Regions from separate parts of the Homo sapiens genome. Here regions 2, 3, 4, 5 and 6 are each linked to region 1. Evidence: promoter capture Hi-C in 16 types of primary human blood cells and fetal thymus (Javierre and others, 2016). All regions are on one chromosome and are shown on one strand. The core of a region is centred on a gene start or on the middle of the fragment in contact, and the rest is flanking DNA. Distances in the headings are between cores, read along the strand shown.

Evidence for each region. The method cuts DNA at HindIII sites, captures the fragments that hold promoters and counts their contacts. A CHiCAGO score of 5 or more calls a contact.
Region 2: a contact is called between a fragment that was not itself captured here and the fragment with the promoter of CDC73 in region 1, in 1 of 17 cell types (total B cells). The highest score is 5.0, in total B cells.
Region 3: a fragment that was not itself captured here is called in contact with the fragment with the promoter of CDC73 in region 1 in 1 of 17 cell types (neutrophils); the score reaches 8.0 in neutrophils.
Region 4: a fragment that was not itself captured here is called in contact with the fragment with the promoter of CDC73 in region 1 in 1 of 17 cell types (neutrophils); the score reaches 9.6 in neutrophils.
Region 5: a contact is called between a fragment that was not itself captured here and the fragment with the promoter of CDC73 in region 1, in 1 of 17 cell types (neutrophils). The highest score is 5.9, in neutrophils.
Region 6: a contact is called between a fragment that was not itself captured here and the fragment with the promoter of CDC73 in region 1, in 1 of 17 cell types (neutrophils). The highest score is 6.2, in neutrophils.

The regions. Positions count from the first base shown.
Region 1 is chr1:193,120,055-193,123,902 of GRCh38, forward strand. CDC73 (cell division cycle 73) reads left to right here and starts at 1,977. Exons shown (of 17, transcript NM_024529.5): 1 at 1,977-2,277. The coding sequence starts at 2,147. RefSeq lists enhancers at 1,474-2,120, 2,025-2,094, 2,121-2,765, 2,365-2,414 and a silencer at 1,785-1,864. The HindIII fragment of the contact is 13,310 bases long and covers 1-3,121 here.
Region 2 is chr1:192,628,269-192,632,126 of GRCh38, forward strand. The region is part of intron 1 of LOC107985241 (a long non-coding RNA gene); the gene reads left to right. It overlaps LOC105371664 (a long non-coding RNA gene), which reads right to left and starts at 765. Exons shown (of 5, transcript XR_002958418.2): 1 at 619-765. The HindIII fragment of the contact is 750 bases long and covers 1,858-2,607 here.
Region 3 is chr1:192,771,569-192,775,435 of GRCh38, forward strand. All of the region lies in intron 1 of LOC105371665 (a long non-coding RNA gene), which reads right to left. Among named protein-coding and RNA genes, the nearest start is that of RGS2, 36 kb to the right of the region's middle. The HindIII fragment of the contact is 5,622 bases long and covers 1-3,867 here.
Region 4 is chr1:192,694,923-192,698,933 of GRCh38, forward strand. No RefSeq gene overlaps it. Among named protein-coding and RNA genes, the nearest start is that of MIR4426, 19 kb to the right of the region's middle. The HindIII fragment of the contact is 1,946 bases long and covers 1,644-3,589 here.
Region 5 is chr1:192,823,055-192,827,296 of GRCh38, forward strand. No RefSeq gene overlaps it. Among named protein-coding and RNA genes, the nearest start is that of RGS2, 16 kb to the left of the region's middle. RefSeq lists an enhancer at 3,528-4,242. The HindIII fragment of the contact is 1,543 bases long and covers 1,320-2,862 here.
Region 6 is chr1:192,721,991-192,726,462 of GRCh38, forward strand. No RefSeq gene overlaps it. Among named protein-coding and RNA genes, the nearest start is that of MIR4426, 7.9 kb to the left of the region's middle. The HindIII fragment of the contact is 4,229 bases long and covers 32-4,260 here.

The DNA.
Region 1 (3,848 bases), core at 727-3,226:
TGTTTTTTTCTAATTAATTTTCTAATTTTTCAGCTCTACCACTAATCTTGCCTTTTATTGTATTTTGACATCCTCCAATGAACCAGTATTGGTAGGGCAATTATAAGGGTACTTAGATAAAAACAAAAATGATCTACAATTGCTTCTGTAGACACAGGGTCTAGGTATGTTGCCCAGGCTGGTCAGGAAAAAAATGATCTACAAATTTCAATGCTTTAACTGTTAAAAGCAACAACTTACTAATGACTTATCTTACCACTTTTTAAAATTCATTAACCTAAAAAACATAATTTCTCTGAAAAGAGAGACTTTAATCATTATTTGAGTATGAAATAAAATTAAGTATCGTTTGAAGGGACTATAGTCGAGCCTCCTAATCATGAAATCTTGGCTTCCTTGAGCTTATCTTTCCATTCATTACTTCAACATTTATTAGAAGCCTCTATCCATGTATTAACTCGATATTTACTAGGAGCTTCCATCAATTTATTGAATTCATCCATTTATTACTAATATGTACCAAATAATGTTAGACAGTAGGATATGAGGACACAGATCTATGGTGTTTCAGTTTTGTGGATGCAGGCAAATAAACTATAAAGGGAAGTAATATGGTACTGAGTGCTCTGACACAGGTATGAATAGAGAATGTGGGGATAGGTAATTGTAGCCATTTCTTTATAATGTGTGTGCTTGGGGTGAGATTCAGGAGAATACTACGGGGTGAAAACATTGGTGGAACAGAAAAAAATTTCACAAACTAACAGTTGCAGAATGGCTACAGATCATATCGGAAATGAACCACACACTTCTGTATCTGTAGTCCTCTGCGTTGTGAAAAGATTGACTTTTTTCAAAACAGGTCAAGGAATTTGGTTATGTCAAACACAAAGTTGCCTCTTTTTTCCTTCTGACATGGTAAAAGAAAAAAAACAATCCCATAGGATGTGTTTGGTTGGCCATAGTATATTGAACTTATCTTAACCGTCTCAAAACGCATGTCAAGGACACCACTGAGACTTCTGAGTACCATTTAAAAAATTGGGTAGTCTGGAAGTGTTCTAAATTGGACCGTTTGGGGTTTCTGTTAGGGCAACTTTCCCATTTACATCTTGGAACACAGCCTTTTGAATATAGCCCTTCGGGATTGGCGGGGAGAAGGGACCGCGATGGAAAAAGTCATCATCCAAAGAATGAAGAGGGAGGATCCAACATTTAGGATATTTTATTGACTTGCTAGGCGCGTTTACCTTATCTTCGTATTAACCCCATTTTCTTCATTAACCAATTGATGCTGTGAGAAGCTATGTAACTTGACGAGCAGTGCCCAGAACTGTTTTTTTTTTTTTCTGGACTCGGTCTTTTCCACTCAAAACCAACAAAAAACCAAAACTCGTTCTTTTCCACATCAAAAGCAAACAAAAAACCCCAACCCCAACCCCAAGAGCCCCACTCTTTCAAAAGGGCTTCTCCGGATCACTAAGTCCTAGAGGTCTTTGGCTAGGCCTGGGTCCGATCTAAATAGGAAGGTAATTCTAGTGTTCCGCAAATCCTTGCCGAATTCCATCCCGGCCAAAGCAGGGACCCGGGGGAGCCTCTGGTCGCACCCGAGACAGTTCGTTAAATACTCAGTGCACGTGCTGGGGATGGAAGTGCTGACCCACTGCTCAGGTACGCGCGCACCTGACGCCGCTTGGTGCGCGCCGCGGGGTACTGGGTACGTGCTCCGCGCGCGCGCGCCCGGCAAAGTTCCCCGTACGTGCGCCGTACGTGGGCGCGGTGCCCCAGCGCTCAGCGTTTCAGCGAGTGAGTGGGCTCCGTGCCCAGCTGAAGTCTGGGAGGGGCACTTTTCCAGGCGGTCGCGGCTCCCCCTGGCGGCGGATGTGCCTCGCTGGAGGGGCGCAGTCAGGCGTTCTCCGCGGGCAGCCGGCGGCGGGGCCTTGCCTTACAGCGCGGGGTCCTCGGCGGCCTGGGTGGCTACTGCCCCTGCTGCTGTCGTAGGCGAGGACGGCTGTTAGTGCTGCTGCTGTTGGTTCGTCGCGGCGGCGAAGGAGGAGGAGGAAGAGGGCGAGGCGACAAGAGAAGAAGGAGGCAGGCGCGGCGGCAGCGGCGGCGCCCCGAGCCGGCGGAGGCGAGGGGGGGGAAGATGGCGGACGTGCTTAGCGTCCTGCGACAGTACAACATCCAGAAGAAGGAGATTGTGGTGAAGGGAGACGAAGTGATCTTCGGGGAGTTCTCCTGGCCCAAGAATGTGAAGACCAACTATGTTGTTTGGGGGTAAGTCCGGCATGGCTGTGGCCCAGGGGTGGCAGGGCAGAGTTGGGCGCCCCCAGGCGACCTCTTTCTTAACCCCTCCCCCCGTTTCCCCTGGGGATGGGATAAAACGGGTGTTCGGGGAAAAGAAAGTTTCTCTCTAGAGCAGAAGTTGCACTTTTAGGGTAAGGAAAGAAGGGGCGGAGCTCTAGAGCAGTTCATCACTTAAAATTTTTGAGAAGCCCAAAGGAAAGGTACCGTGGGAGTTTCTGACTTTTACAGTTAATTTTTATCAGTAGGTATGTGTACCAGCGAAGTGTGGGACTGGTGCGCAAGGGATACCTGAACATAGGTGCACAAAGGAGCACACCGTCTGGTGCCGTAGACGCCTCTTTTTGTTCTTTATTTTTTTTTTCTCTTTTCCAGGCTGCTATGTAACTATCTCCGCTGGTCTTTGCAACTCCTGGTTTATTTCATCTCCTTTCATTGTTGGGGTGGGGGTGATTCCTGTAGAAGAGAAAAGGGAATCAACCCTGAAGTTAGGACCGGAAAGAAATTTGGTGAATTTGGAAGAGTCATAAAAGTCTGTGTTAGAGAGGTCTTCAGGAGTTGGTGAAATGAGTGAGCTTTACAGATCTAAGAAATAGATGGTGCGTGTGATTTTTCGGAAGTGTATTTTAAAGGGAAATGTTTGGGAATGTTGGTCCATGTGAAGTTTTATCAGTTTAAGTCATTCAGGAAAACTTCTAGAGACGGCTCTAACAGTCATTAGGGGCCTTTTTAATGATGTCACTGTCATTGGTGCATCGCTTCTAGAATTAGAACCTTGAGCTACAACTTCCCTACTCATTTTGTTTCTTTGAATGGAAGCTTTATGAAGAGTCGATGAAAAACTAGGGAAATTTAGTTTGTTGGTTGGTATTTATTTATTTATTTTTGAGAGGGAGTCTTGCTCTGTCGCCCAGGCTGGAGTGCAGTGGCGCGATCTTGGCTCACTGCAATCTTTGCCTCCTGGGTTCAAGTGATTCTCTTGCCTCAGCCTCCTGAGTAGCTGAGGTTGCAGGCCCCCGCCACCATGGCCGGCTAATTTATGTAGTTTAGTAGAGATGTGGTTTCACCGTGTTGGTCAGGCTGGTCTCGAACTCCTGACCTCAAATAATCTGCCCGCCTCCACTTCCCAAAGTGCTTGGATTACAGGCGTGAGCCACGGCGCCCTGCCTATTGGTTGGTTTTAAAATTTTTTTGTCTTATGATTTAATTAGCTTTATAAAATGTTGATCAAATGACATTCTGAGTTTCTGGTATTTTACCCTTTCGAATAATTTGCATAGGTAGAATTACATGTGGTTGGATTTTTAGTGAATTTTTTTTTTTTTAGACAATGGCTAAGGAGTACCTAGGGTGTGAAGTGGTTCAATCTGAGGATTAAAAAAATTCCTAAGACTCTGGTTTCTACCTCAAAGGAGGTTAACTTAGTCTGAATAGAGGAGATTAAACAGATAAGTTGATGTGAAATGCTTTCTATAAGTTGATGTGAAATGCTTTCTACAATAGCTTTTGAAGACAGCAGTCACTTCTAGTTGGGGTTATTTAGG
Region 2 (3,858 bases), core at 983-3,482, 490 kb before region 1:
CTGCAGTATCTGAGAGACCTAATGTCTTGCGTCTGAATCCATCCTTAATTTTGTCAGGAAATAAATATAACTAGATAATATACTATAGCTTTTCTGGGGAGGAGGAGCTACTATATTTATTTCTCTAGAGAACTACAAACTAGAACACTTGAACTCCTAAACTCCAAACCATATCTTCCTAGGCAACTCTGCAGGACTCCAAATTGACTTATTTCTGTTGAAAGAATAGGCTACTGTAGCAACTGATAAAGAGCCTATCTCTCAGGGACCCAGAGAGCACTTGACAGATACTATCACATTAAAGCTGTTTGTTGTTAGAGGAAAGCTAGTATGGAAAATCATTCTGATAACTAATCTGGAACACTGACAGCCAAGTGACTTTGTCTTCAGTGCCAGTGAACAAGGACAGTGCAACTCTCTAAATTCTATTTACTCATCAAGCCTCCTAATTAGATCAACTGCAATTGCCCAAGCAACTTCAGTGACCCTTGTTAGAGATTTCTCACCCAGCTGCTACTGCTGTGCAGTAGGCTTCTGAGACCCCAGCCCTGACTCTGCCTCCCTCACCACCACCTCATTACTCCTGGCTTGTGAATCTCAACACTGTCCTTTACTCACCCAGGAACGTCACCATCAGCAACAATGTCAATGCCTCTCCACTCATTGCAACTTCACAGCCAAATGCCCTCATGACAGTTTATCCAACTGTTAGGAGTATTATTTGAATGCACTCCTCTAAACCCTTTAATAGAGAATACAATTTTCCACAACCCAAATTAAAATGTACACAAAATTTCTCTTCTGGTATCTATCCCTTAGCTTTATGTCCCCTTCCAGCAAAACTAGCTAAATAATTTGTGATGCCCAATGCAAAATGAAAATGAAAGGTCCTTTGTTTCAAAATCAAGAATATTAAGACAGTGACAACAGAGCCCTAAAACCAAATTCTGGCCCTGTGTTACCATGGGACATGTCACATGCACATGAAGCTAGACCAGTCTCTCTTATTCCTGAGTTCTAAACCCTTCTAAACATGTGTACCATGGTGTCTTCATCAATCATGAAGTGTTTCCTCTCTCCCACAGCAACCTCCAGTGATTTTTTGCCAATCCTTTGTCTCCATTGGTTTATATCATGGGCTGTTGCCATTTGATAGTCTCATGTCTCAACCTCTCAGAGACCAAGCTACCTACTAATTAATTCACTAGACTGATTGTACCTGGAAGGTCTTCTAATCCTCACATTCCCATTTCAAGTATGGCCTCCAAAATCTCTGTTGCATTTTTATTGACTAATGCATCACCTATTGGCCAAGGGAATCCCTGTGTGTGTGGACTGTGTGAATCTCAGTATCTTCAAATAATTTTGCTTGTGGTCCACCTTAGAATAAAGCTTGACCCTGGGCAAGGTCTTCTTGACAGAGTAATCAGTTTATTTTTTCCAGAGTGACAGATAAAACGTTTAATTTCCCATTATCTAGGCCCTATAAAACATCTGTAGGCTAAGAGCAGCTATGCCAATTAGCAGAAGTGACAGCCTGAGTCAATGAACTGCAGCCTAAAAATAAAGCCACATGGTCCCTTTGGTCCCTTTGGAACACTGCTTGACTTGGAACAGATCTAAGTGGAATATTCCTTAGTTACCACTGTTTCACAATAGTTTTTTGACCCCTTTTTCTTAGGCATGTTTGATTTTCCGGTGTATTTCTAAACATGCACATAAGCAATTTAAATGTTTCCCCGGGCCTTGGCAGAAAGTGAAAATAAAATAATAAGAAATATATTATTAAGTACATTATTATTTATGTTATCAGATAAAACAAGTGTTTTTGAGCTGCTGGAGTTCTTTGTTTAGAAAAGCTTGGGTGTTTTTTTAATTATCATCAAATTCAATATGCATAAAATTCATAAAGCAAATTCATAAAATGTATAAAGCCAATGTATTTTGCTTTATGTCATGTACTTGAATACTGGGCATAAACTGAATTTCAGACATTTAAACTAGAAGAATTAACTAATGGAATTCCTATAGAATTCTTTTGTAAAATAAATCATTTTCAATGATAATAATCATTCTTTAATCTATATTTTCTTTCAGATATTTCATTATAAGAAGGCAGCATATATCGTGTGTCTTTAAAGAATGATGCTCAAATTGCATCATTTGAGGCAGAAAAATTAGATTCAGAAGCATAATATTCCATTTACTCAACTCAAATAGAAACCATGTTAATACCACTTAAGAGAAAAGACCAGAGTCTCAACATGGAATAAATTACAGTGAATAAAATAAAGCAAGAGTAGGGGAGAATTCGTGTAACCACAGCATCTTGTCACATGTTTTTCTAGTAGAGAAAGAAGAAGAGGAGATAGATACAAAGACACAAGGGCCTAAAAACTTTAGGCTGTTACCTAAACTGAGATAAGAATGTAAGATATACACAATTATCTGATTTTCAACCAGAAGTAAGCCAGAAAGGGAATGAGGACCTTAAAGTACACAGAACGCAGGAGTTAGGCAGCCTGAGTTTTTGACTCAGCTATATCTCAGCTACTGTGTGGCTCAGGGCAACGCACAAGAGATCAATTTCTTTCTTCATTACATGAAAGCTTTGAACTAGATTATCTAAATTTCCTTTAACCTCTAAATGTCCGTGATGGAACTTCTGCTTTAAAATGGGGTTGGAGAAGCAGTCTCTGAAACAAGCTCTTCCACTTCCTACACAGACAACCAACATTTAAATATAAAAATACCTTCCTTATTAGAAAAGTTGCCTTCACAAAGCTCTTTGGCAAAGGTTATAAGGAAAGCAAACAATCGATACAAATTTCACATTTCTATTTACTTTCTGCCTACTCACTTGGAAAAGCAATAAGATGAAATAAATTCCCACTGATCTGGGGGAAAATATAACTAGAATGCCATTTTTCCTAAGTTCCTTTGTTTGGAAGTTTTTAAAAGAGTTAAAACAAGCTTCACGGTTTATTAGATATTATTTTCTGTAGTGTTTGAAAATGTTATGGGGTAAAAAAAGGGCATGTGTTTTTAATGCCCTGAACATTTTCTTTTTCAAACAAAAGTCATCCTTCTTGTGTCTCGGTCCCCGTTGTTCTTCTTCCCATTCTGCCCCTTTGCTCAGCTTCATCTATAAAAATCATTTGTGTAATCTCTATTGGCCCCACGCTGTACATTCAGGATGCCTTATGTAGTTCCAGGCCTCCAGGATTATATTTCTTATAACACCAATCACTCTTCATTTTCCTTTGGATGTTATTTTCTTTGGGCAAAATTACTTTTCCTTTGTGTAAAAATGTTTTAAGAAAATATTTTCCATATCTGCAAAAAGCATGTAGTTGATGCACTAGTTTTACAGTTCTTAAAGCAACTCCTCAAATATTCAGACTTGAGGGGGAATTAAACAACACTTTTTGTATGGAGGAAAGCATACCAAAGTAGGTTTCTGAAGCTTCTGGGATTGCAATTTTTAAAATTCTTTGCCTTTTCTACAAAACTAAACTTGTTTTATCTAATCTTATTTGCATTATCATATCTTTCAGAGGTTTTAAGATATAGTGTCATAATCCTAAAGAAAAACATTTGCCTTGTATTTTATTCTAGTTCCTTGTTTGACTAAGTCACAAGGACACCATTGTTTAAATTTGCATGCCTCATAAAAATATATATTTGTGTAAATTATACTTACAAAGCATCTCCAGATATATCTCATTAACCACTACACAAATTATAGGTTACAAAAAGGTTACAGTCAGAGAGGCAGAACTACTTCTTAGGAAAGTATGAGATATGGGAAGCTTGTACAATATAATCCTTCCCAAACTTCACCCTATAATTTTTATC
Region 3 (3,867 bases), core at 900-3,399, 350 kb before region 1:
TACTCCTCCCAGAGGAATCTTTATGGCTTGCTGCCTGCAGGAAGAGACAGGTCAGCTAGACCTTTCTGAAACTATCATTTCTCCAATGTTTTCAACTCAACGTAGTCAATATATTAACCCAGCATATTTCGGGATGGTATATCATTCAGTCCTTCACATACAACCACAAAATTCCATTCAATATGTATCTTAGAGCAGTGGTTCTAGGATATATGTGTGGCCTGAAGAACCCTAGAGGCTTCCTAAGACTCTTCTTTCAGGGAATCTACAAGATCAAAACTATTTTCATAATACTAAGATTGTTTTGCTTTTCCACATTCATTGCTTCACAGTGTACAATGAAGTTTTGCAGATGCTACCTGCTGTACACACACACACACACACACAGACACATACATACATGCTAAACACCATCTCTTAAGGGGAAGGAGGTGAAATGGCATCAGAAAGGGCCACATGGAACTGATTGTCTTGTAACCCTGAGTAGATGTAAAATGTTCATCATCAGCTTTACAAATTCTATTTTCTGGATCACATATTAAAGAGATAAAGTCTCCTACTGTGTATTTATATAAATAAACTATATTTACCAGCCTCACATTCTTATATTTAACCAACAATCCTGATAGTAATCATAAATTCTCCTATGATAGCCTTTGGCTTTTTGACGTGAGAAAAATGAAAGGACTTCCTCCACTGAGGAAAGGTACCCCAGTGGAGAGAAAAGCACAAAAGCCATGGATGAAAAGAGTCTAGATTTTTACAACCATGCCTAGTGCTCATCCACTGGCCCAAGCAATTTACATGACATCTGTGAACCTCCTCCATTCCTTATTTGTAAAATGGAGATAATATTTCTTAGATAGCATTATAAGTATGAGGGGTAACTAATGTGAAAGGATTTTTTTTTAATTAAGAAATGGCCTTTGGAGGTAGAAGATTTATTCATCTCTTTGGATTCCATGTTAGTCAACATAACGCTCCTTTCCATTCTCTCGTGACTCCCTTATAGTGGCCCAGGGAGGGTTCATAGTAGGAGTCATCCTTCTCAGGTGAAGGCAATAAAGGGTATATTGCCTAAAGAGAATTTTAAAACAATAATAAAACCAACTAAAAGTCCAAATGCTGTTTATTATTACCACAGGCTGCTGATTGTAAATATTGCCAATGCTGCCACTGCTCTTATACACCTTCTTCACTCTGTAGGACTCAGCAAAAATGCTGGCCTTTTTTTTTTTTTTTTCTTTTTTTGAGACAGTCTCACTCTGTTGCCCAGGCTGCAGGCTGGAATGCAATGGTGTGATCTCGGCTCACTGTGTTCAAGCAAGTCGCCTGCCTCAGCCTCCCGAGTAGCTGGGATTGCAGGTGCCCACCAACATGCCTCGCTCATTTTTGTATTTTTAGTAGAAACAGGGTTTCACCATGTTGACCAGGCTGGTCTCAAACTCCTGACCCCTGGTGATCCACCCACCTTGGCCTCCCAAAGTGCTGGGATTTAGGCGCGAGCCACGGCGCCCAGCCCTGGCCCTATTTAAATACAGCATCTTGCATATTCTGCATCTAACTCAGAAATGAAGAAAACACACAATAAAGCTAAAAATTCCATTGTTACATTCATGACCTCAAATCTTAAATGGACATTCAACACTGGTGGGCATTGCACTACACTTTTCTGGTATATTTGTTCCCCTACTATCCAAATTACTATTTCACACATTTTTCTTCCTTCTCAAATATATGACACTCCTGACTATCCCTCTCAGTATTTGCTAATGACCTCATACCTCATTAAGCAAGGAGAAAGAATGCAATGGGAACGCCCTCATTTTTCTACCATTAAATATATCTTTCCTACTAGTAAATTCTACCTTTCCTCCTCCTCTCCCAATAGATGAGGTATTCCTGCTCATAGATGATTGTCCCCTTGTGCTCTGGATCCCCTATGACTTTTTCAAGGACTTGATGTATATAATTACCGCCTATCTGTCAATTGGATTATTATACCTAATGGAAGAATGGATGGATAAATAGTTGAATGGATGGATGGATGGATGAATGAATGAATGGAGAAAGAGATGTTCCCTTGTTCACACCTCCTTTGCAGCTACAACCTAATTTCTCTGCTTCCTTTCCAAGAGAAACATCCAAAGTGATGTCTAAAGTCATACTCTCCATTTTCTCACTTCCTATTCTCTCCTCAATTTGATCTAACTGGACTTTGTCCCCACCATTCCACAGAAACTGTTCTAAGCAAGATCATCAACAATCTCCATCGTGTCCAATCCAATGTCACTTCTCCGCCCTTAAGCCCTCAGCAGCACACAGCTACTATAATACTCCCTTCCCTTTGAAGAATTTTCTTCTTTTGTAGCATCACATTGTTCTGGTGTTCTTGCCTAACTAATTGCTCTTTGTGAGTTCATTCTTCACATCTTTAGATACAACCTTTATATTCATTCTCAAAAATCTATATTTACAGCTCCAGCCTCTCCCTTGAATTCTCTGTCTAAAAATGGCATTCATTTCTATTTTAATATGTCCAAAACAGAATTGTTGCTTCCCTGCCATATATGTTCTTCCACCATCTTCCCTTCATCAGCAAATGACACAATAGCTTACCCAGTTGCTCAAGCTGGAAACCTAATGGTTACCTTTTTTCTCACACCCCAAATTAATCTCATCAGCAGCCCCAAAATATATCCTAGATCTAACCATTTCTTTCCATTCTTTATCATGGTAGTCTAAGCCATTATCATCTTTACCTTGGGCTGCTGAAATTTCCTTCTGTTTGCCCATCCATCATTCTTTTACCAAAAATTCTATATTCTACACAAAAGCAAGAATCAGTTTGCTTTCGTGTAGAATATAGAACTTCATAAGCAAGCTGACTTGCTTACAAAATGCAAATTAGATCATGTTGCTTCCCTGGTGAACATCCTCCCATTACTTTCCATTATAACTAGAATAAAATCCACAACCTTTACCATTGCCTAGAAGCCCTGCACTATCTGGCTCATCCCCACCTCTGTGATCTCATCTCCTTCTGCTCTAACCATTGCTCAACGCATTTTAGCAATATTGACCTTCTTTTTCTTTCCTGGATATCACCAGGACCCTTTTCCTTAGAGGGAGTTTACATCCCAGTTTCCCTGAGTGGTCCAGGTTTTTGCCTGTTGTTCTGATGTCCTATTCACTTTTGCATTTGCACTTGAGCATTTGTCTCAGACTCATCTTTTGTTTTAAAACTAAGGCTTATTAATTGTTGCATTAAAATAAGCCAAAATGGGTTTGGTAGATCTTCCCTTTGTACTTCCAGTGGCTACCCTGCTGTTGTCTAATAGTGTGTGAAACATGTGCAGCAAACTGAGTTCTCACTCTAACAAATTGACTAAATCTGAAAGGTGACTATCAATAAGCATTCTCTTTTTTCAGATGCTTTCAAAGGAAAAGTAACAATCAAGTTGGACTCTTCCTAAAGTAATGCACTGGGACAGAAGAGGGTAGGAAGAGCCAAGTGTTCCAGGTCTCTGAGGGTGGTCAGAGATGTAGTAAATTTCTTTACCTCTGGTATACTAGCCAGTGGGGCAAGATGTTGGAAAATATCCTGTGGATTACTGGGCTTACCTTGTCTGAATGTTGGAGTCTCCTTTAGCAGTGCTTTTAGGGTGAGATTGTGTTCCTGTTTGTAGAAATCTAGTAAGAAACATCTGGTTCTATCACAGACTGTGGCTAATGACTTTCTACCCTGATGCAGCCCTCTGAGGAACTACTGTGTGGATTGGCCACAGTCTCAGTGAAAGGACATTTGCTCTGGTCTGCCCAGACTCACCTAGGTTTCAGATGTAACACCAAGAGCAGCAACATTTG
Region 4 (4,011 bases), core at 1,367-3,866, 420 kb before region 1:
TATGCCTGGCTGGGTGCAGTGGCTCACACCTGTAATCCCAACACTTTGGGAGGCTGAGGCGGGTGGATCACCTGAGGTCGGGAGTTCAAGACCAGCCTGACCAACATGGAGAAACCCCATCTCCACCTAAAATACAAAATTAGCCAGGCGTTGTGGCACATGCCTGTAATCCTAGCTACTTGCGAGGCTGAGGCAGGAGAATTGCTTGAACCTGGGAGGTGGAGATTGTGGTGAGCCGAGATTGCTTCATTGCACTCCAGCCTGGGCAACAAGAGCAAAACTCCATCTATTTAAAAAAAAAAAAAATCATGCCTGTGTGATTTCCTTGATACAAGCCTTTGGATACCAAAGGGCCTGACTCCTACACTGCCCCTGCAGGCAAGCCACATCATCAGGAGTTGCAACCTAGAATTTTTGAAGTAGTAAAAATTAAATTATTGAAGAATTATTATGGTAGCAAAAGTTAAATAAATCTGCTCAGAAAACTCAAACAGGTCCAGGAAAATAAGGCAGTTTAACTGATGGAATTATGGTTTTGGCTCTATGTGGCTCAGCTTTGACAGATCCTCAGCACAGATCCTCCATGAGCCAACAACTCCTACTAAATTCTTCCCTCTCCTATCTCAAATCAGGCAGGTCCACATGCATACTTCTCCCTTCCTGATGAAAACTGGCTTCGTCTCCAGCATACCCATTTTAGAAATCGCCATCACACAAGGCTCACCAGGTAAACCTGCACTAATCTGTCTTGAAAGCTTAGGCCCATCACTTACTAATGTTATGACCCTAAGTCAGCCCTTTACATTTTTGGTGCTTGATTTTTCTCACCTATGAAATAGAGGTAACAATAGTATCTAACTTGTACAATTGTTCTGAGATTTAAGTGAGAAAATGCATGAAATGAGTGTAGCATAGTAACGAAAAAATAGAGAACTATAAATTTTAGCTATATTGTTATTACCATTCCTTCAACACATCTCTCCAATTTGTCTCTCCTCAATTGCTCCTGACTCCAACAGAATCGTGACTTTTGTCACCTCACACCTTTTATTTTAACAGTTTTCTCACTGCTTTTCTTACCCCTTCGTTTTCCCTCTTCTTAATCTTAAACATAAGTAATAAAGTATTCCCTGCTCCAAATTCCCATCATATCAACTTCCTGGCTTATACACATTCTTCTACCCCTCTTTCGAGGTTTTTTGTAGACTGAATGCACTAAACTAAACTAAGAACATTGTTAATTCACAAGTATTGGATTCATTTTGGTAGCTTTCAGCTGTAACCAATGGTTAGAAGAAGATGTATCCTGTGGGTCTTCTCTCCCACAGCCTGGCCACTCAGAATACACCAATGTGAAAGCAAGACTCAGAGCTGACTCTGCTACTTATGCAAATAGTCACTTTACCCCTAAATTGCCATACCACCAGTTCTTTAAGCTCCATGAAGGCTCATCTCTCTTAGCTTTTCAGGTGTCCCAACAGTGGTTGCTCTGGTTTGAATGTTTGCGCCCCACAAAATTCATATGTTGAAATCCTAACCCCTAAGGTGATGGCATTAGGAAGTGGGGCCTTTTGGGAGTCAGTAAGGCCTTAGGCAAAGCCCTCATAGGTGAGATTGGTGCTTATATAAAAGAGACCCCAGAAAGCTTCCTTGCTCCTCCCACCACGTGAGGACACAGGATGAAGGCACCATCCGTGAGAAACGGGGCCCTCACCAGATGCCAAATCTGTCAGCACCTTGATCTTGTACCACTCAGACTCCAGAACTGTGAGAAATAAGTTCTGTTCTTTATAAGCTACCCAATTTACAGTATTTTCGTCTAATATACTTTAATTGAATGGACTAAGATAGTGGCCTGTGTGGAAAATTCACCTGAAGCAGATTCTAATAGAGGAATTTAACTATCCTTCTGTTCAGGGTTTCACAACAATATCCTCTGATAAACAACAGAACACAGGAAAGATTCAGAATTCTAACCTATGATGCCTTTCCAAAGGATGTAATTTCTTGGGCTTACTAGATTGCTCTGTCTTGTTTAAGCACCAGTTCCCAAGCCCATACAAATTTCTAGCCTGATCAGCCCTCATTTCACAGATTAAAAGTAATATCTAACACCCATTATACTAATTAATAAGGCAACTGATATTAATTAAAATAAAGACATTGAAACCTTCTGAATGCCCAGGCCTCTGGTCTTTGGGCCTCTACTTAGAAATTTTCATGTACTAACTAATCATCCCTGGAGTGCATATTCCTGATTAAGGTACCTAACATGTTAACTAACGGACTTTAAAGTATAGATTAAGTTGACTACCACCTTCTATGCTGGGTGTTTTAATAGTAAACTGCAGGCCAGGCACGGTGGCTCACACCTGTAATGCCGGCACTCTGGGAAACTGAGGCGGGTAGTTTTCTTGAACTTAAGAGTTCAAGACCAGCCTGGGCAACATAGCAAAAACCCTGTCTCTACAAAAAATCCAAAAATTACCCAGGCACAGTGGCTCACGCCTGTAGTCCCAGCATTTTGGGAGGCTGAGGCAGGTGGATCACTTGAGGTCAGGAGTTCAAGACCAGCCTGGCCAACATGGTGAAACTACGTCTCTACTAAAAATACAAAAAAAAAAAAAAAATTGGCCAAGTGTGGTGGCACGTGCCTGTAATCCCAGCTGCTTGGGAGGCTGAGGCAGGAGAGTCACTTGAACCCAGGAGGCGGAGGTTGCAGTGTGCTGAGATCGAGCCAAGGCACTCCAGCATGGGCGACAGAGCAAGACTTCATCTCAAAAAAAAAAAAAAAAATAGCTGGGCATGGTGGCATGAGCCTGTATTCCCAGCTACTTGGGCTGAAGAGGGGAGAATCACTTGAGCCAGGGAAGTTAATTAAGGTTGTGGTTAGCCAAGATCGTACCACTGTACTCCAGCCTGGGCAAAAGAGTGAGATCTGTCTCAAAAAACTCCAAAAACTGCAGAATATAATATCTAACTTTACCTCCCCCTATTTCCCAACACACACATTCATCTAGAGCAGAGTTTCTCAATCTGGGCACTACTGATCTTTTGGACTGGATAATCCTCTGTTGTGAAGGGATGACCTGTGCATTATAAGGTGTTAGCACACTGCTGGTGTCTATCCATGAGATGCCAGTAGCATCCCTCCCCAGTTGTGATAAGCAAAACGTCTACAGACATTGACAAGTATCACATGCTCTTAAAATCACCCCTTGTTGAACATTATTGCCCTACAGTGTGGCTGACCCCCTAAAGCCAACCCCACTTACCAGGATATTTTTCTTTCTTAATTTTACTTATAGTGGTCCCCAGTCTTAGAAGATACCTTCTCCACTGCGCTACTCAAATGTGACCCATGCTTTAAGACAAGACAGCACCAAGAATTTCAAAAAGCAAATGAAGCTCTCAGAAGTGATTTATTTGGACCACGTAAATGTGGGCTACAGATTTCTGTAGACCTCACAGCTCTAGGGTATTACACTTTCTCATTCTTCCTACTTATCTCATTTATGTTATCTGCCTGGCCCTATGAGAATTTACATTAATACTTAATAATAAGTTTTAATTCATAATAAGCCTAATAAGCTTCATAATAAGCCTAATAAGCTTCATAATAAGCCTAAATCATCCTTCCAAGAAATTGTCCACTGTGATGTCCATATTGACCTCTTCCTTTTCAGGAGAAGTTTTATGCTATGAAGAAAACTAAAAAAATTCAACACAACTCGAGTACTAAAATTTCTCACAACTTAATGGCTCCTGTTAAGAGAAGCAAAGTATTAAAACAGTGTACTAAAGTCAGCTGTTCTTTAAAATAGTCACAGAAATTATGTTATCAGACTGGCAAAAAAAAAAAAAAAAAAAATGCTCACCTGGGTCAATATGAGCCATCCTGCAATTTTTGAAAGACCAAAGACCACATAAAACAGAGCTTTTTTTTTTTTTGCTGTGTCACCCAGGCTGCAGTGCAGTGATGCAATCTGGGCTGCAACTTCGCCTCCTGGG
Region 5 (4,242 bases), core at 841-3,340, 300 kb before region 1:
CCCTTGAACCCAGGCGGTGGAGGTTGCAGTGAGCCAAGATCACACCACTGCACTCCAGCCTGGGCAACAGAGCGAGACTCTATCTCAATGAAAGAAAGAAAGGAAGGAAGGAAGGAAGAAAAGAAAGGAGAAAAGAAAAGAAGGAAAGAGAGAGTGAGAGAAAGAAGCAGCAGTAGCAGTACATGTGACTACCACAAACAGAATTTTCAGATCTTTTCACATTACAATTGTTAAAGATTGTTATTTCCAACCTTCAATAGTAACTAGATCTGAAAATAAATCTTGTTTAAAGTGTTAATAAAGTACAAACAGTATATTGCTCTATCATAGTTTTTTAATTAAATGTTTTATTTTGAAATAATTGTAGATTCTCAGGCAGTTGCAAAAAAAAAAAAAAAAGATAGATCCTGCGTACTCGCTACTCACTTTTCCCAGGTGATAACATCTTGAAAAACTATAGTAAAATATCAGAACTAGGATCTTAATACTGATATGGTCAAGATATACAGAACATTTTCATCACCACAAGGATCCCATGTGTTGCACTTTTATAGCCTCACATACTTCCCTCCCATCCCATACCATCCTTAAACCCTGGCAACCACTAATCTCCTCTCCATTTCTACAATTTTGTCATTTCTCAGATGTTATTGATATGGAATCCTACAGTATGTAACATTTTGTGATGACCTTTCCACTCAGCACAACTCTCTGGAGATTCATTCAAGATGTTGCATGTATCAGTGGCTTGTTCCTTTTACTGCTGACTAGTATTCCATAGTGTGACTATACTACAGGTTGTTTAACCCATTGAAAAACATCTGGACTGCCTCAGTTTTGGCTATTACAAATTAAACTATTATAAACTTTCATGTACATGTTGCCGTGTCAACATAAGTTTCCACTTCTCTGGAATAACTGCCCGGGAGTACAATGGCTAGGTCATACACTAGTTGCATATTTAGTTTTATGAGAAAACCACCAAACTTTTTCAGAGTGGCTCTGTACCATTTTACATTCTCACCAGCAATGTATTTATGAGTGATCGAGGTTTTGCCCATCCTCAGAGCAGTTTGTGTTAATGGTGATATGTCTGTTCATATCTTTTGTCCATTTTCTAATTGGATTATTTATTTTACTGTTGAGACTTGAGTGTTTTTTATATTTTCTACATACAAGTCCTTCATCAGATATGTGGTTTGCATTTTCTGCCCAACCTATAGCTTGTTTCTTTATCCTTTTAACAGAGCAAAAGTTTTTAATTTCAGTGAACTCCAATTTATTAATTTTTCCTTGTATGAATCATGCTTCTAATGTCAAGCTTAAGAACTCTTTGTCTAGCCCTAGGTCCAAAATATTTTTGGATGTTTTCCTTTGTCTTTAGTTTTAGAAGTGTGATCATGAGGTGTCTTAATGTAGATTTCTGAGTTTATCCTTTTTGAGATTTACTTGCCTCCTTGAATATGTAGGTTTAGCTCTCTTGCCAACTTTGGAAGTTTTCAGCCATTAATTTTTTTGGTTCTTTTCCAGACCCACTCTCTTTTTCCTTTCCTTTCAGAAGTCTAGTGACAAAATTGTTAGGATTTTTTTTGCTGTAGTCTCAGAGGTCTCTGAGGCTTTGTATATTTTTTCAGTCTATTTTCTCTTTTTTTCAGATTGGGTAATTTCTACCTTATCTTCAATGTTACTAACTGCTTCCTCTGTTTCATCTATTCTGATGTTAGGTCCATTCATCAAGTATTTTTATGTAAGTTATTGTATTTTTCAGTTCCCATTTTCCCATTTGGTTGCTTATCTCTTCTACGTCTTTGTTGAGACTTCCTATTTCTTTGCTTACATTTTCTATTTTTTCATTTGTTTTAAGTATGTTTGTATTTGTTTATTAAAGTATTTTTATAATGGCTTCTTTGAAATCTTTGTCATATAATTCTAATATCTTTATCATGTCAGTGTTGGCATCTACTGATTGTCTTGTTTCATTCAACTTGATATTTTCTTTGTTCTTAATATGCCAAGTGATTTTCTATTAAAACTTGAAATTTTTGAGTATTTTATGATGAGACCTTGGATCATATTTAAACTTCTGTTTTAGCTGGCTTCATTTGATGCTACTTCAGCAGAAGGGGGATGCTGCCTTATTTTTTCAGGTGGGATATAAGTCCAGGTTTGTTTGGCCTTTATTGATACCCAATAGGAAGAGATTCTCCTTTTTACTTTTTGACAGGGGTGAGAATTTCAGCTTCCCAGCAGGTTGCCACTGATGGTCATGTGTCTTACAGCTTGACAAAGGTAGAAGATTATACTCCCCACTCAGCCTTTACTGGCTTAGGTGGAGGTGGACATTTATTGTTTAAAAGTATCTGTCTTGCTAGGCTTCCCCTTTCCTAGTTCTTTGGCTGAAGAAAAAAGACTTTTCTTCGGGGACTTTTTTTTCTGTTTTCCTGGGCTATTGTGGATTGCCAGTTTTTTGGCTCCAAGTCTGAGAAATATAAGGCAAAAAGACAGTCTAAGGAACTTACCACCATATCATTCATTGGGACCCAAAGTCTCCAACCAGTCCTTCTACCTCTCTACATTTTCTTGAGTTTTTAATATTTGTTTCATACATAATATGCAGGGTTTTTAGTTGAAATTAGTGGGAGAAATAAGGAAAGATATGTCTATTCCATCTTCCAAAAAGTAGAAGTCTTCTCTATTACCATTTTTAATAGTTTGATTACTATATTTCAGTATAACTGGTTTCCTTTGCAATCCCATAAATTTTGTTTATGCATTTACAAACAATTTTCTGAGAATCACCACATAGCCATCAAGGTCCATGGCATGGAACCACCATGAGCCATTTTAGAGAAAAATATTAAAAGCTTGAGACCAGAAAGAAGCAGCAAAGAATTATATTCCAAGATGAAGCAATGGGCACAACTCCCTTCTTTAGAGCACACGTTGGCTTTCTAACTTCCAGGTACCCTCTCTAACCCCCCGAGGGTCACATGGAGAAGAGTAACTAGAGCTAGATTGATGACTTGGAGAGGAGTAGGGAGCCATCTATTGTCTTATTGTCTTGCAAGGCTGTTGCCTTGGTGGCCCAAGCCTACAAACCATCCTCAAAACTCAGAGATCACCACCTGTCACCCCACTTGAGAAGTAAAGTTAACCATTCATCCATCACTTTGGGTATGGGCTTTCCATTCCCCAGGATAGCCCCTTCTTAATTTCCACTACATTGGAAATCCCCTTTCAATGGCCCAGAATATTCATAGGCATGCCTTCCACTCTGACAGGAGATACAGGTGTTTGTCATCCTGGTGGCAAGTGGTGAAGCAGCAGGGAAAACTCATACACCAGGACATGAGAGGGACTATTCACCCATTTTGCATTTAAATGTGTATCTACTCTTTCATTAGATGGTGAATTCCTCAGAGGAAATGAACTATGTTTCATTTTTTCCTTTTATTTTCAGTGTTTAGCAGAGTATAAAGCACATGGCAGATGCCTAATCAATGTTACTAAATGAACAAATAAGTCTATACTGCAGAAAAATGGTATATTTAGGATTTATCAAATACCTCATGTTTGCGTATTTCTATTTTAATTAAAAAAAGCATTCTTAGATTATTTAAAACAACTATTACTAGTTATTTCTTGGGCTGTAACATTTCTAGTATCTTCTTACTTATCTACTACTACTAATCTGAATTTGGACAACAAAATGTATGCACATTTTCTCTATTTCACAGACCATCTGGCACAGATGTCATGCATGTTGCTACCTCATAGATATGTTAATGAGTGACACAAAGTTTCCAGGTCCAGTCACAAAAATGCCATTTCCCTCCTCCACTTCCTTACCCACATTCAAAAGGCCAAGGTAAACACGTCCTGGGGCAACAGTCTGGAGAGTATAACCCTAGAAATAAAATGGATTCAGATAAATTCCAGAGTGATCTGCCAGTGACTAATGGTAATATCTTTAGTTAGCCAGAGTTCAAAAATACAAAAAGATAAAAATCTTGAGTGCAATCTCATAAATCTTTAACCCATGTAGCCCTACTCCATAGCAAAGTCTTCTTGAAAGCAAATAATGATTTAAAAAATTAACTTCTTATGTTAACTAGCTACCCAGATAAGTTCAAGAAATGGAATGAACATTATCCAGGAATTGAAAGGAAATGACTAAGAGTTAGGAAATGGTACCAGCATCAAGTATGACAACTTGTAAAGAAGGGTGACATTCCACACCTC
Region 6 (4,472 bases), core at 896-3,395, 400 kb before region 1:
TTCTATTATTCAATACTAGATTATATAATCAAGCTTGAAACTAATAATCATGTCAGCTTCCTGGAGTTTATTATAATTAATTTTTAAATACACTGTGCCAAATGTTAGAATTGTTTAACAGAGAAAGTAATGTAATAAAAATGCTGAACTAAATATCATCACTAATTCCAAATCAATAATGGAAAATAATTCCAAATGACCTATGAATAGTGTCACTTGTGATTAATATCTGGTTTTTCCCCTGATTTTTTTTATCATGCCCGTAAGGTAATAAGCCAGAAACCAGACAGCCTTCCCCAAAATATCACATGTTCCCCAAAACATGGGAAGAAGTTCTTTGTTACGGACTAAAAGTTGACCCATCTTTGGTATTTACCCTTATATTGCTTCATTTTTCATCTGTTATAGTAGATCAAGTCAAGTCCGATTATGAAGCCTTCATTTATCTAAAAGTTCCACTGATTATTTGCTGCTGTACATGTGACTGAAGAACACATTTACTTAATATCAAAACTTTCCCTCTGTTTCTCATGTCAGAAAGTACCAAGTAAGGAAATGGAAAATCATAACAGTAGGAGACTGCTTGCCAAAATTAGCGAATGTGAATTACAATGACACTCCAGATCCAAAAATAGACTGAATTTTAATTATTTCCTTTGAAGGAAAATAAAATAACAATGATATCTAAATATATGTCTCAAATAAGGCATCTGTTTTCAGGAAATAAGAAATAATAGAGTACTATTTGAAAATGCTTCCTGGTACCCAGTCAGGCTGTATCATAAACAACCACATTTGGAATCTCTGCTTCAGGCATTGCAAGGAGCCAGAACAGAGTGAACTTGTCAGAATAGAGTATCTACGTCTCCTATTCTACTCCTTTTATTCTCTCCACATAAATAACACACACAAGAAATTTAGATCTCACAAATAGGTGCTAAAAGGGTCAGCTCTCAACAATATGCATTTTATCATAAACACTGCATGGTTTTAATTCCTACCAACCAACTCAGTTCGACATTGAACCAGTCTTGACGTAATATTAGGGGAGCTAAATTATTCTTTGAGCTTCACTTCTGCTCGGAAAGATTGAAGAGTCTATTCATGACAACACTTGATATTGTTCCAAAAAAAATTTTTTTTTTTTTAGACGGAGTCTCGCTCTGTCACCCAGGCTGGAGTGCAGTGGCACGATCTCGGCTCACTGCAAGCTCTGCCTCCCGGGTTCATGCCATTCTCCTGCCTCAGCCTCACGCGTATCTGGGACTACAGGCGCCCGCCACCACGCCCGGCTAATTTTTTGTATTTTTAGTAGAGACGGGGTTTCACCATGTTGGTCAGTATATTCTCGATCTCTTGACCTCGTGATCTGCCCGCCTTGGCCTCCCAAAGTGCTGGGATTACAGGCGTGAGCCACCACGCCCGGCCCAAAATTGTTTTCTAATCCTCCCTGTGAATGGATGCCGTATGGACACCAAGCTGCCATGCGCACCTCTTGAGGCACACACTGACAAATGGGGCTTATTCCTCAGAACCAGACAACGATCCAAAACGTATTCAAGCTGGTGTCAACTTATACCATGGCTGTTTCTCACAAGTTTATTATAGAGTTATGGTCAGAGTTCCTGTTGAAAAACTTCATAAAGTTGTTGCTTTCTATTGTCGATTAAATCCCCACAAGAAAAAAAAAATAGAGAGTAAATTCCCAGCTTGATAATTTCACTAACTTTTACAATGACATTCTCCAGAATGTATATTAAGACTGTGGCCCAGTGTACCCTCCTTTCCACACTCCAAGAAAGTATCCAAATAGTGTACAATTGAAGGGCTTACGCTTGCACAGGCCTGGGTACAAAGCCATCCTCTGGAGTCCGGCTGCCCAGTTCAAATCCTGGCTCAGAAAATGACCAGTTCTGTGACCATGAGGAAGCTCTTTAGTCTCCATACCTTGGTTCTTCCAAATGTATGGGAAAATGAGGACCATAATGGAATTGTTCTGAAGATTAAATGAAATTGCCCACATAAAACCATTAGTAAAGTGACTGAAACAGCACAATGTTTCTCCCTCATGTATCTTTTTCATTTTTATTCTACAAGTCTTGCCATAAAATCTATGGAATACAAGATGTACAACTCAAGTTATGTTGTATGTGATTAAATTGGCAAACTAGAGGAGGCAAAATCTGCATGATTCTTAACTAATTTGGTTCTTTTAAACAAATACCAAAGTGTACTGTCTATGGAGGAACTCTAAGGGGCAAAAGCAACTGCTTTCTTCTGTGTGTACTGGAGCTAACAGAATGCTTCAGGATGCTCAGTCATAGTGGGAGAAACGATGCATTCAATAATGCTTTTCTCAAAAATCAGAGAAAACATTTGTATTTTAAGTGGTATCCTAAATCAATTTTTGCAGCGTATTTTTAATAAATCAGCTTTGAAAAGCCCTCTATTGTTTAAATAATAGACAATATGAGCCCTGTGCTTACCAAGACAATCATTCACTTATGTACCAGTTTAATTTCAACATCATAATTATTCTGGCATTAATTCAATAGAAGCTCTTTCTCCTTTACATGAGGTGTGATACTTAAATCTTACTAAATTATAACAATAATTAAAATAGGGAAAAATATTGTATACTGTTCAACCTATAATAAATACACTAAAATATCAGTTACTTGTCTATCTTTTTTTTAGAGGTAGGGGTCTCACTTTGTTGCCCAGGCGGGAGTGCTATGGATATTCACAGATGTGATCACAGCCTATTACAGACTGGAACTCCTGGATCAAGTAATCCTCCTGCCTCTGCCTCCCAACTAGCTGGAACTACAGCATGCCACGGCACCCAGCTATGTGTGTCTAATTTTTAATGGCCCATTGATGAGTAAATTCCATGTCATTGTTCCAGCAGATCCCTGAGTCACTGTAGCTTCATGACTGAGAATTAAGGCCAAGCCAAATTCCTCCTAAGACACTACATAATCGCATGTCTGACCCTCTCCCCAAACTGCAACATATACAAATGATGAACTCAAGAATCACGGCACTCTCTGCTTAAAGATTACCATAACCCTTTCCAAATTAACAGCATGCTCAAATGTTTTGCAAAATTCTAACACAATGAAACCTACAGAGGCTCATTCATATTTTTTGTGAAAAAAATAATGTAACAAATTCCAGATTATGAAAAGAGCATGAGACTGAAAGACCGAAAGTTCAAATTCTAATCCCAGTTTATCATTAACTTGATGAGTGACATTGAGTAAAAGCACCTGACCTCGCTGTACCTCAACTTCCCTATCTTAAAAGGTGAACGTTATAGTACTTGTCCTACTACTGTACCTGGTTGTTGACCAAATTAAATATAATAAATCATATTTAATTTATTTTCAAATATATATATATTTCAAGTATATATTTATTTTCAAACCATGCATACATTTGAAAATTGTGTTGTACAAATGTAAAATATTGCTGTCAATTTTCTTAGAACATTTTCATTCCCTCTATAACACGTCTCTGTTACCAACCATATCATTGCATGATGTTCTCCTAAGAACTCTTTATTCTTACCAATGACCCCAAGAGTTGTAATGCTGCATTGTAAAAAATTGCCATTTAAGGATATTTTTAAAGTAACAAATTGGCATTTCAGCCATCTATCTATAATGTAATATGATATAATATAATCTTGTTGTTTCCCACTTTCTGTAAATATTATCTTCCAGCATTTCCTGGAAAGGAGTATTTAATTTCTAAATTTTACTGATTACAGTTGTATTTCACAGAAAAATGACATAAGAGAATACAGAATTAGCTTAATATGAAAATGTTTTCTGGGCCAGGGATTTGGATCTCAAGTTGCAGGTGTGAAAATTCTCATTTTCTTTTTTGGTTTTTTGTTTTTTCAATGTCTTATTCTAACACACCAAACATATGTATGAAGAGAAAAAACAGGTAAATAACAGACAGTATGGTAGCAAAAGCCTGGCTTTGTAGCTGCTGATTTCAAGTCTGGCTTTACTACTTACCAGCAAAGGGTAAATCATTTCACCTTGCTTAATCTAAGTTTCCCCATAGGTAAAATAGATACACATTTTATATAACAGTTATAAAGTTTAGAAATACAGCCAAAACATCTAGTTTTCATAAAGTTGGGAAACAGTATCATATGATATTCCAAATGAAACACTGAGCACTTATGTGTTCCAATGAAAAGAAACCTTCTTTTCTTCAGGCTCCAACTCTCTTAGCCCTTTAAGCTTCAGCATCTTCAGAGTTACTTGTTCATATCCCAGGGTTGATGCTGGTTATTCTTGACAGCTGCAAAAAGAGCAGAAACTGCACCACCAGGCATGGTGTCTCACGCCTGTAATCCCAGCACTTTGGGAGGCCAAGGAGGTGGATCACCTGAGGTCAGGAGTTCGAGATCAGCCTGGCCAACATGGTGAAACCCTGTCTCTACTTAAAAA